2 separate regions of the Homo sapiens genome follow, and region 2 is linked to region 1. The links are contacts of gene promoters, found by promoter capture Hi-C in blood cells and fetal thymus (Javierre and others, 2016). All regions are on one chromosome and are shown on one strand. The core of a region is centred on a gene start or on the middle of the fragment in contact, and the rest is flanking DNA. Distances in the headings are between cores, read along the strand shown. Region 1 holds the start of LIAT1 (ligand of ATE1). Region 2 overlaps NXN (nucleoredoxin).

Region 1 (4,650 bases), core at 1,331-3,830:
ACCATTGTATTTTCTCTCACAGCTTCTTTGGGTCAGGAATTCAGGAAAGGCTTGTCTGCTTGGGGCTGGCCTGGGGTCTCTCCTGCTGCTGCTGCAGGACGATAGCTGGATGGGAAAAGTGGGGGCTGGAGGAGCTGAGGCATCTTTCTCTCCATACATCTTAGAGGCTCTCCACGTGGACTAGGTGGGGATTTATCAAGGTGTGACAGCCTTGGGGTCCTCAGACTTCTCAATGGGAGGCTCAGGACTCTACAGCAAGCACGTCATGGGCTAAGAAGATGGATGGATGCTGCATTCCCTTTAGGACCTAGCCTGAGAAGTCACACAGAGGCACTTCTGCCACATACTATTGGTTACAAGCGAGTCAACAAACCCCTTAAATTGAAGGAGAGCGGAATGAGACTCTGCGTCTTGCCATGGGAATGGCAAGATTCTTGAAGAGTATGTGGGACAAGAGATATTACTGCAGCCAGTTTTATTTTATCATTTTATTTTATTTTGAGATGGAGTCTTGCTCTGTCACCCAGGCTGGAGCACAGCAGTTTTATTTTATTTTATCATTTTATTTTATTTTGAGATGGAGCCTTGCCCTGTCACCCAGGCTGGAGTGCAGTGATGCAATTTCAGCTCACTGCAACCTCTACCTCCTGGGTTCAAGTGATTCTCCTGCCTCAGCCTCTCAAATAGCTGGGATTACATGCACCCACCACCATGCCCAGCTAATTTTTGTATTTTTAGTAGAGACGGGGTTTCTCCATGTTGGCCAGGCTGGTCTCAAACTCCTGACCTCAAGTGATCCACCCACCTCGGCCTCCCAAAGTGCTGGGATTACAGGCGTGAGCCACCATGCCCAGCCTCTGCAGCCATTTTCAGATAATACAATCTGTGGAGGGTAAACCTAGAAAGAAAAGCAGGTGATGCATCATACCAGGCCTTGTAAGCCACACTTTGTTATTTTTTTTTTTAAGACACAGAGGCCGGGCGTGGTGGCTCAAGCCTGTAGTCCCAGCACTTTGGGAGGCCGAGGTAGGCGGATCACAAGGTCAGGTGTTCGAGACCAGCCTGGCCAATATGGTGACACCCCGTCTCTACTAAAAATACAAAAAATAAAAAATAAAAAATCAGCCAGGCGTGGTGGCACGCACCTGTAGTCCTAGCTACTAGGGAGGCTGAGGCAGAAGAATCACTTGAACCTGAGAGGCAGAGGTTGCAGTGAGTCACGTTCACGCCACTGCATTCCAGCCTGGGCAACAGAGGAAGGCTCTGTCTCCCAAAAAAAAAAAAAGAGAGAGAAAGTCTTGCTTTGTTACCCAGGCTGGACAGCAGTGGTGCGATCTCGGCTCACTGCAGGCTCAAGTTCCTCCACAAGTGCCCCTCAGCGCAGCTGGTTAATTTTTTGTAGAGATGGGGTCTCACTACGTTGCCCAGAATGGGCTCAAGCGATCCACCCACCTTGACCTCCCAAAGTGTTGGGACTACGGGTGTCAGCCCTGCACAGAGCCCCACAAGAGTTTAGATCTTGATGTAAATTGTGATGAGGAAGCAATGGAGGACTTTTTGGCTTTTTATGTTTTGTTTTTCATCACTGGAGACTTTTAGCAAGAGAGTGAACGGTTTGGTTGTTTTTAAAAGTTTGTTCTAGCAGCTGTGCGGAAAAAGAGTTCGTGGGGAAGGTTTGAAAGCAGAGACCATTCAGGAGAGGACCCAGAAGTCCCAGTGCCAGACACGGCAGTCGGCCCCAGCCTGGGTAAGGGACAAGGGAGAGGGTAGGGGACACGGAAGCCCACCAGGTTTCCAGCCAGTCCAGCGGTTTTGTTCACTAAAGTGGAAAACCATGAAGAAGTAAGTTTGTTTTGGACACATTGGCTTTGAGAGTCCAGGGTAGATGTACGAGGCTGAAACTCAGGCAATAAAAATTGAGGGGAGAATACACAGCATTTAAAAAGGTACAGGAGGCCGAGCACGGAGGCTCATGCCTGTGATCCCAGCGATCTAGGAGGCCGAGGCGGGAAGATCGATGGAGCCCAGGAGTTCGAGACCAGCCTGAAACCAAAAATCAAAACTCTTAGCCAGGCGTGGGGATGGGAGGCCAAGGCAGGAGGATCGAGGCACGGGACTGGACGAGATGAGTGTCAGCCCAGGGATTTAAAATCTCTCTGCCCACCCTCCCCTTCCTGCGGTCAACTGTCCAGATTCCAACAGACAAAAGCAAGCATGGGCGAACCACCGTGCGCCGCGGTCCCCGACAGAAGCACGCATGCGCACACCTCTGTGTGCGGAGGTTTCCGACAGACGCACGCATGCGCACACTTCTATGCGCGGAGGTCTCCGCAGACAGAAGCACGCATGCGCACATCGCTGTGCCGGTATCGCCAACAGATGGAAGCACGCATGCGCGCACCGCTGCGTACCTAGCACTCCGACAGATGTACGCATGCGCACAACGCTCTGTTCTCGAGATCCCCGACAGAAGCACACATGCGCACACCGCTGTGTGCCAAGGTCGCCAAAAGACGGAAGCACGCATGCGCACACCGCGGTCCGTGGGGCACCGGGCGGAAGCGTCCTGACTGCGCAGGCGCAGCAGGGGTGGTCGCCATGGAGACGCGTGGCCCTGGCCTGGCGGTCCGCGCTGAGAGTCGCCGATTAGTCGGCATCGGGCCTCGGGCGCCCCCGGGGCGGGTTGGGTTGCAGCCCAGCGGGCGGCTGGACCGCCGCGGTGGGGCGGGGACAATGGGGTACAAGGACAACGACGGCGAGGAGGAGGAGCGGGAGGGCGGCGCCGCGGGCCCGCGGGGGTCTAGACTGCCCCCCATCACAGGCGGCGCCTCCGAGCTGGCCAAACGGAAGGTGAAGAAGAAAAAAAGGAAGAAGAAGACCAAGGGGTCTGGCAAGGGGGACGGTAAGAGGAGCAGCTAGCCCGGCTGCGTCAGCTCCGGTTCCCTGGAGACTCTTTGGGGACCCACCCCCCATTTACCCTTCAGACCGGAAACAGAAGCTCAGTGGTCCCGGACCGAGGTCCTCCTGCTCCCCACACATGCCCGTCAGCAGCACGTTGATGCCCCAGCCCCACCCGTGGAGACCATCCACCAACTCTGCGGTCCCTTAGCCCCACACAGAGACCCCTACAGATATCCACCATTCCTAAGAGCCTTCCAGCCCCACACAAAGACACCCTCTCAACTTCCTAATCCCTCAGCCAAAACTGGCAGTCTTAAACGTCTGCGCCTTCCCCACAGAGGCCCTCCTCACAAGACACTTTCCCCACCCCAAACACATTGATGCCACATGAAAGGCCCTCACTCTCATGCACAGAGAAGGGCAGACTCCTGCCTCCCCTCCTCCCACCCTCTTGCGTTAAGGCTGCCTGCCTGTGGATGCGCGGTAGACACCCACACCCACAGACGTGTGTATTAAAGGTCCTCGCTGCATGGGCTCCCCCTCGCACCCACCAAGGGGCAGCCTTGGACTGCACAAACCCCATGACACCAGTCACTGTGACATCCTCCTATAATCCCTGACACCCTCAACCACTCCCCGCTTCATATCAGTGTAACACCCACAGTGAAACTAAAGGGCGGGGGACACCCTCAACCACTCCCCCCACCTTCTATCAATGTAACACCAACAGTGAAACTAAAGGGCGGGACGCAGTGGCTCACACCTGTAATCCGAGCACTTTGGGAGGCCGAGGTGGGAGGATCACTTGAACCCAGGACTTCCAGGCTGCAGTGAGCTATGATCGCACCATTGCACTCCAGCCTGGGCAACAAGCAAGACCCTGTCTCTCAAAAAAACAAACAAGAAAACTAAAGCACAGATCCCCCTCATGCACACACATTCCTAGTCTACACACACAGACTGTTAATACGTTATCCATTCGCGTGTGTAGTCATATGCAGGCAGGAATTGCAGTCTCTCTCAGGGACACCTTCACAAACACACATACCCTACCTGCCATAAACCCCAGTCCCTACATCTCACCAAGCTCTTCTTGTAGAACCCCTACATTTCTTGACAAGGGGACTGAGCACCCACTTTGAGGAGAGAGAGCACAGCAGTGACAGAGAATGCAGGTGCCCGTGAGTGCTGTGAGGCCACTGTCGCCCGTGTGGTCCACCTCAGTGGCTTTGGCTGTCTGGGAGAGGGCTCTAAGCTCCAGTTCTGGGGCCTGGCCCTCTGTGGCAGAGCTGGCACCAAGGCAAGCAGGAGGCAGAGTGGCAGCCTCGCCCATATGGACCGTGCAGTGTGGGAAGGGAGCAATGGGAAGATGATAAGTACTTCTCAGGCGTAATACAAAGGCAAGAAAATTCTGCAGTTCAGGTCAAGAAGCCCTGTGTGGCTGGGCACATGGCTCACGCCTGTAATCCCAGCACTTTGGGAATTCAAGACCAGCCTGGCCAACATGGTGAAACCCCGTCTCTACTGAAAATACAAAAATTAGCTGGGCATGGTGGCAGGCACCTAGAATTGCTTGAACCTGAGAGGCGGAGGTTGCAGTGAGCCAAGATTGTGCCACTGTGCTCCAGCCTGGGTGGCAGAGTGAGACTCAGTCTCAAAAAAAAAAAAAGCCCTGTGTGTATCTGCAAAAAGAAATTTGGCAGTTCATTGTCCTTTTGGCGTAGCTTTTCACTGTAGAAATTACAGTGA
Region 2 (4,650 bases), core at 1,560-4,059, 560 kb after region 1:
AGAGCGGTCCCTGCACACCTAGAGGAAGAAAGCCACCTGAAGAGGCTTGCTGCTCCTCCTCCTCCATGCGGAACGTTTGATGTGAGTATTTTTTAAGGTACAATTCCGTGAACAGAAAGGACCAAGTTGAATTTAAGGGAGTTCAGCCAAGCTCTTTCATCCAACACTGTGACCCTGATCTAATAATCGGTGCTCTTTGCTTCAATTCTCCAGCTCTAACATACTTGGAAAAGTTAAAACGGTGAATATCTACTGATTACTAGTTGCTGGAAGACGTAATATGTACGCATTTTGAGTTCTTTGGAAGAAAGATGCTAGAGAAATGCAAACAATGAAATATTAAAGCATGGCATGACAGGTCTGCAGATATGAGACTCTTTTTTTTTTTTTTTTTTGACACGGAGTTTCACTCTTATTCCCCAGGCTGGAGTACAGTGGTGCGATCTCGGCTCAATGCAACCTCCGCCTCCAGGGTTCAAGTGATTCTCCTGCCTCAGCCTCCTCAGTAGCTCGGATTACAGGCATGCACCACCACACCCGGCTAATTTTGTATTTTAAGTAGAGACAGGGTTTCTCCACATTGGTCAGGTTGGTCTAGAACTCCCAACCTCAGGTGATCCGCCCACCTCGGCTTCCCACAGTGCTGGGATTACAGGCGTGAGCCACCGCGCGTGGCCGAGTCTCTTTTAATAGACTCAGATATTTGACATTTCAAAAATGGAGAGTCAAGCTTTTTCCTATTTTTGAGCACAGAATCACACGGCAATCCAGTTGCACAAGAAGCTGCTGGGACTCACCCAGCTGTGACATCCATTTGCTCATTTAGTCCTCTTTAAAACACTCATTGAGAAACAAAAACAGACCGAGCGCGGTGGCTCACGCCTGTCATCCCAGCACTTTGGGAGGCCGAGGCAGGTGGATCATGAGGTCAGGAGTTCAAGACCATCCTGGCTAACACGGTGAAACCCCGTCTCTACTAAAAACACAAAAAATTAGCCGGGCGTGAGGGCGGGCACCTGTGGTCCCAGCTCCTCGGGAGGCTGCGGCAGGAGAATGGCGTGAACCGGGAAGGCGGAGCTGGCAGTCAGCCGAGATCGCGCCACTGCACTCCAGCCTGGGTGACAGAGCGAGACTCCATCTCAAAAAAAAAAAAGAAAGTCAGGATTCACAAAGATTCCAAATTCATAGCGATTTTCCTTGATTGTCTTGGAATACGCATAAACGGTAAATTCAATGCAACACAGAAAACTAAGCACCTTGGTGGTTCACACCATGCACCACTGGGAATTCAGATCATGAAGAAAGAAAACACATCCTGGCCGGGCGCCGCAGCTCACGCTGTGATCCCAGCACTTTGGAAGCCGAGGCGGGTGGATCACCTGAGGTCAGGAGTTCAAGACCAGCCTGGCCAACATGGTGAAACCCTGTCTCTATTAAAAATATAAAAATTGGCCAGTCACGGTGGCTCACACCCGTAAGCCCAGCACTTTGGGAGGCCAAGGCAGGCGGACCACCTAAGGTTGGGAGTTGGAGACCAGCCAGACCAACATGGTGAAACCCCATCTCTACTAAAAATACAAAATTAGCCGGGCGTGGTGGCACATGCGCCTATAATCCCAGCTACTCGGGAGGCTGAAGCAGAAGAATTGCTTGAACCCAGAAGGCAGAGGTCACGGTGAGCTGAGATGGTGTCATTGCACTCCAGCCTGGGCAACAAGAACAAAACTCCATCTCAAAAAAAATTTAAAAAATACAAAACTTAGCCAGGCGTGGTGGCTGGCGCCTGTAATCCCAGCTACTCGGGAGGCTGAGGCAGGAGAATCGCTTGAACCCAGGAGGCGGAGGTTGCAGTGAGCCGAGATCGCGCCACTGCTCTCCAGCCTGGCAGAGCGAGACTCCATCTGAAAAAAAAGAAAAAGAAAAAAAGGAAAGAAAACACATCCTATGCCAAGCCTGTGCTCTCCTGGCCAAAATGAAATCATGCAGGAAGGATCCCACCTAGTTCACAACGGGACGAGCTGGAGCCCTGGAACCCTGATCACTGTCAGGAAAAAGGAAGATCCCCAAGGGGTTTGTTCAACCCCGACCCCAGCTGTGCACAAAGCCTGTTTTCTCAAATGTGTGTGCACATTACAACACCTTCCCAACAAAAGGTAGGAATATTTTAAAACGTAGAATCAGGGCCGGGTGCGGTGGCTCACGCCTGTAATCCCAGCACTTTGGGAGGCTGACGCGGGTGGATCACGAGGTCAGGAGATCGAGACCATCATGGCTAACACGGTGAAACCCCGTCTCTACTAATAATACAAAAAATTAGCCAGGGGTGGTGACGGGCCCCTGTAGTCCCAGCTACTCGGGAGGCTGAGGCAGGAGAATGGCAGGAACCCGGGAGGCGGAGATTGCGGTGAGCCCAGATCGCTCCACTGCACTCCAGCCTGGGCGACAGAGCGAGACTGCGTCTCAAAAAAAAAAAAAAAAAGGTAGAATCAAATCAGTGACCCTAACTTCCAGGGCTTGCCTCTGTGCTCTAGCTCACATTCCAACCCGTGTCAGAAGACAAATCGATCAGCAAGAGCTGTGGACGGCTACTCAGAGGCAGGCCTGAGCTGCTAACTGGGAGATGAGTACCAAACCAGCAATGCCTACATGTCTGAGCAAACCCATCCCGCAGCATTCCAGAGCTGGGACGGGAGGCAGGTCCACGCTAGAGGTGGCGTTTCTACAGCTCCAGAGATGAGCACCCTCCATTTCCCACGCGAAACAGCAGTCTTTCAACCTCTACACCGCCCAGAGTTAAGCAAACAGGGTCAGCGGAAGACACACCTAATAGCTTTGGGAAACCACAAAATGATTGCTTTGTGCGTAATTTCTCTCAAGAAGAGTGCCTGATCATCTTTAAGTTACAAGGGTGACTGAAAGGGTAACTTAATAGTAACTTAAATCTTTCCCAGGCTTCGTCGATCAGCAGCAGTCTGGAGCGTCATTGGCAGATAGAAATACAGAGCTCAGTAAGTATCAGTAATATCCCGGGACTTTAAGGCACTGTATTTGTTGTTTCATTCTTCTAGGTCTTTCTTCGCAGTTATAATCTCTTATGGGGCAATTTTTTTTATTTAATTTTTTTTTTCCAAGACGGAGTCTTGCTCTGTCACCCAGGCTGGAGTGCCGTGGCCCGATCTCAGCTCACTGCCAACTCCACCTCTCGGGTTCAAGCGATTCTCCTGCCTCAGCCTCCCGAGTAGCTGGGAGTACAGGTGTGTACCACCACACCTGGTTAATTTTGTATTTTTAGTAGAGATGGGGTTTCACCATGTTGGCCAGGCTGGTCTTGAACTCCTGACCTCAAGTGACCCACCCACCTCGGCCTCCCAAAGTGCTGGGATGACAGGCGTGAGCCACAGTGCCCGGCCATTGTAGGGCAATTTTTTTGACACCTTCATCAAATCCCCTTGTATGCTTGTAAAAGTCATTGGTTTGAAAAGTTTAAAAATATACCTCATGCCGGGCGCGGTGGCTCATGCCTGTAATCCCAGCACTTTGGGAGGCTGAGCTGGGCGGATCACGAGGTCGGGAGATCGAGACCATCCTGGCTAACACAGTGAAACCCCGTCTCTACTAAAAATACAAAAAAAATTAGCCAGGCGTGGTGGTGGGCGCCTGTAGTCCCAGCTACTCAGGAGGCTGAGGCAGGAGCATGGCGTGAACCCGGGAGGCGGAGCTTGCAGTGAGCCGAGATCGCACCACTGCACTCCAGCCTGGGTGACAGAGCGAGACTCCATCTCAAAAAAGTATATAGATATATATATATAGATATATGGATATACCTCATAACCGTTTTACAGTTCAGTAATGTGATAGATTCCCAAGGCTCAAGCTATGAAATGAATGACTAAACTTAATGATCATTTATCTAAACACAATAATAGCATTTATTGAGCACTCACCACATGCCAGGCACGTGTATATTATCTCGCGTAGCCTTTACACAATAAGGCAGGTGCTGTTATCACAAATGGAAAAGGAACGTGTGGTACAGAGATGTACAGCGCCTTGCACAAGGACACACAGCTAATAAACGGCAGAGCGGGGGCGTGAACTCAAGCAGAAGGACAAAAGACTCTATATTTTTAGCCATGTATTAGACTGCCTTATTATGCAGAGAAAAAACAAAGAGATTAAAAAATATATTACAAATGATGGAACAAGAAAAAGCCTCTCAAGGAACATTGCTCTTATTACTTTATTTTTATTTATTTATTTATTTATTTATTTATTTAATACAGGGTCTTGCTGTGTTGTCCTGGCTGGAGTGTAGTGACACAAACATGGCTCACTGCAGCCTCCACCTCCTGGGTTTAAGCAATCCTCCTGCCTCAGCCTCCCGAGTAGCTGGGACCACAGGTACCCACCACTGTGACCAGCTAATTGTTATTTTTTGCAAAGACAATGTTTCACCATGTTGCCCAGGCTGGTCTCAAACTCCTAGGCTCAAGTGATCCCCCCACCTTGGCCTCCCAAAGTGCTGAATTACAGGTGTGAGCCATCACACCCGGCCTGCTCCTAACTGGACTGTTGTCCTTTATTACTAAAAGACTGGCCCAAGTCCTAGAAACACAGTCACCAGTGGGAGCCTGTCCTGGCTGGTCCGGG

Evidence for each region. The method cuts DNA at HindIII sites, captures the fragments that hold promoters and counts their contacts. A CHiCAGO score of 5 or more calls a contact.
Region 2: a fragment that was not itself captured here is called in contact with the fragment with the promoter of LIAT1 in region 1 in 2 of 17 cell types (M0 macrophages and total B cells); the score reaches 8.3 in M0 macrophages.

What each region holds. Positions count from the first base shown.
Region 1 is chr17:407,745-412,394 of GRCh38, forward strand. LIAT1 (ligand of ATE1) reads left to right here and starts at 2,581. Exons shown (of 2, transcript NM_001013672.5): 1 at 2,581-2,902. The coding sequence starts at 2,599. All of the region lies in intron 2 of LOC105371430 (a long non-coding RNA gene), which reads right to left. RefSeq lists a silencer at 2,633-2,722. The HindIII fragment of the contact is 6,027 bases long and covers 1-4,650 here.
Region 2 is chr17:970,569-975,218 of GRCh38, forward strand. All of the region lies in intron 1 of NXN (nucleoredoxin), which reads right to left. Among named protein-coding and RNA genes, the nearest start is that of NXN, 6.9 kb to the right of the region's middle. RefSeq lists enhancers at 1,863-2,364, 2,365-2,864. The HindIII fragment of the contact is 4,162 bases long and covers 729-4,650 here.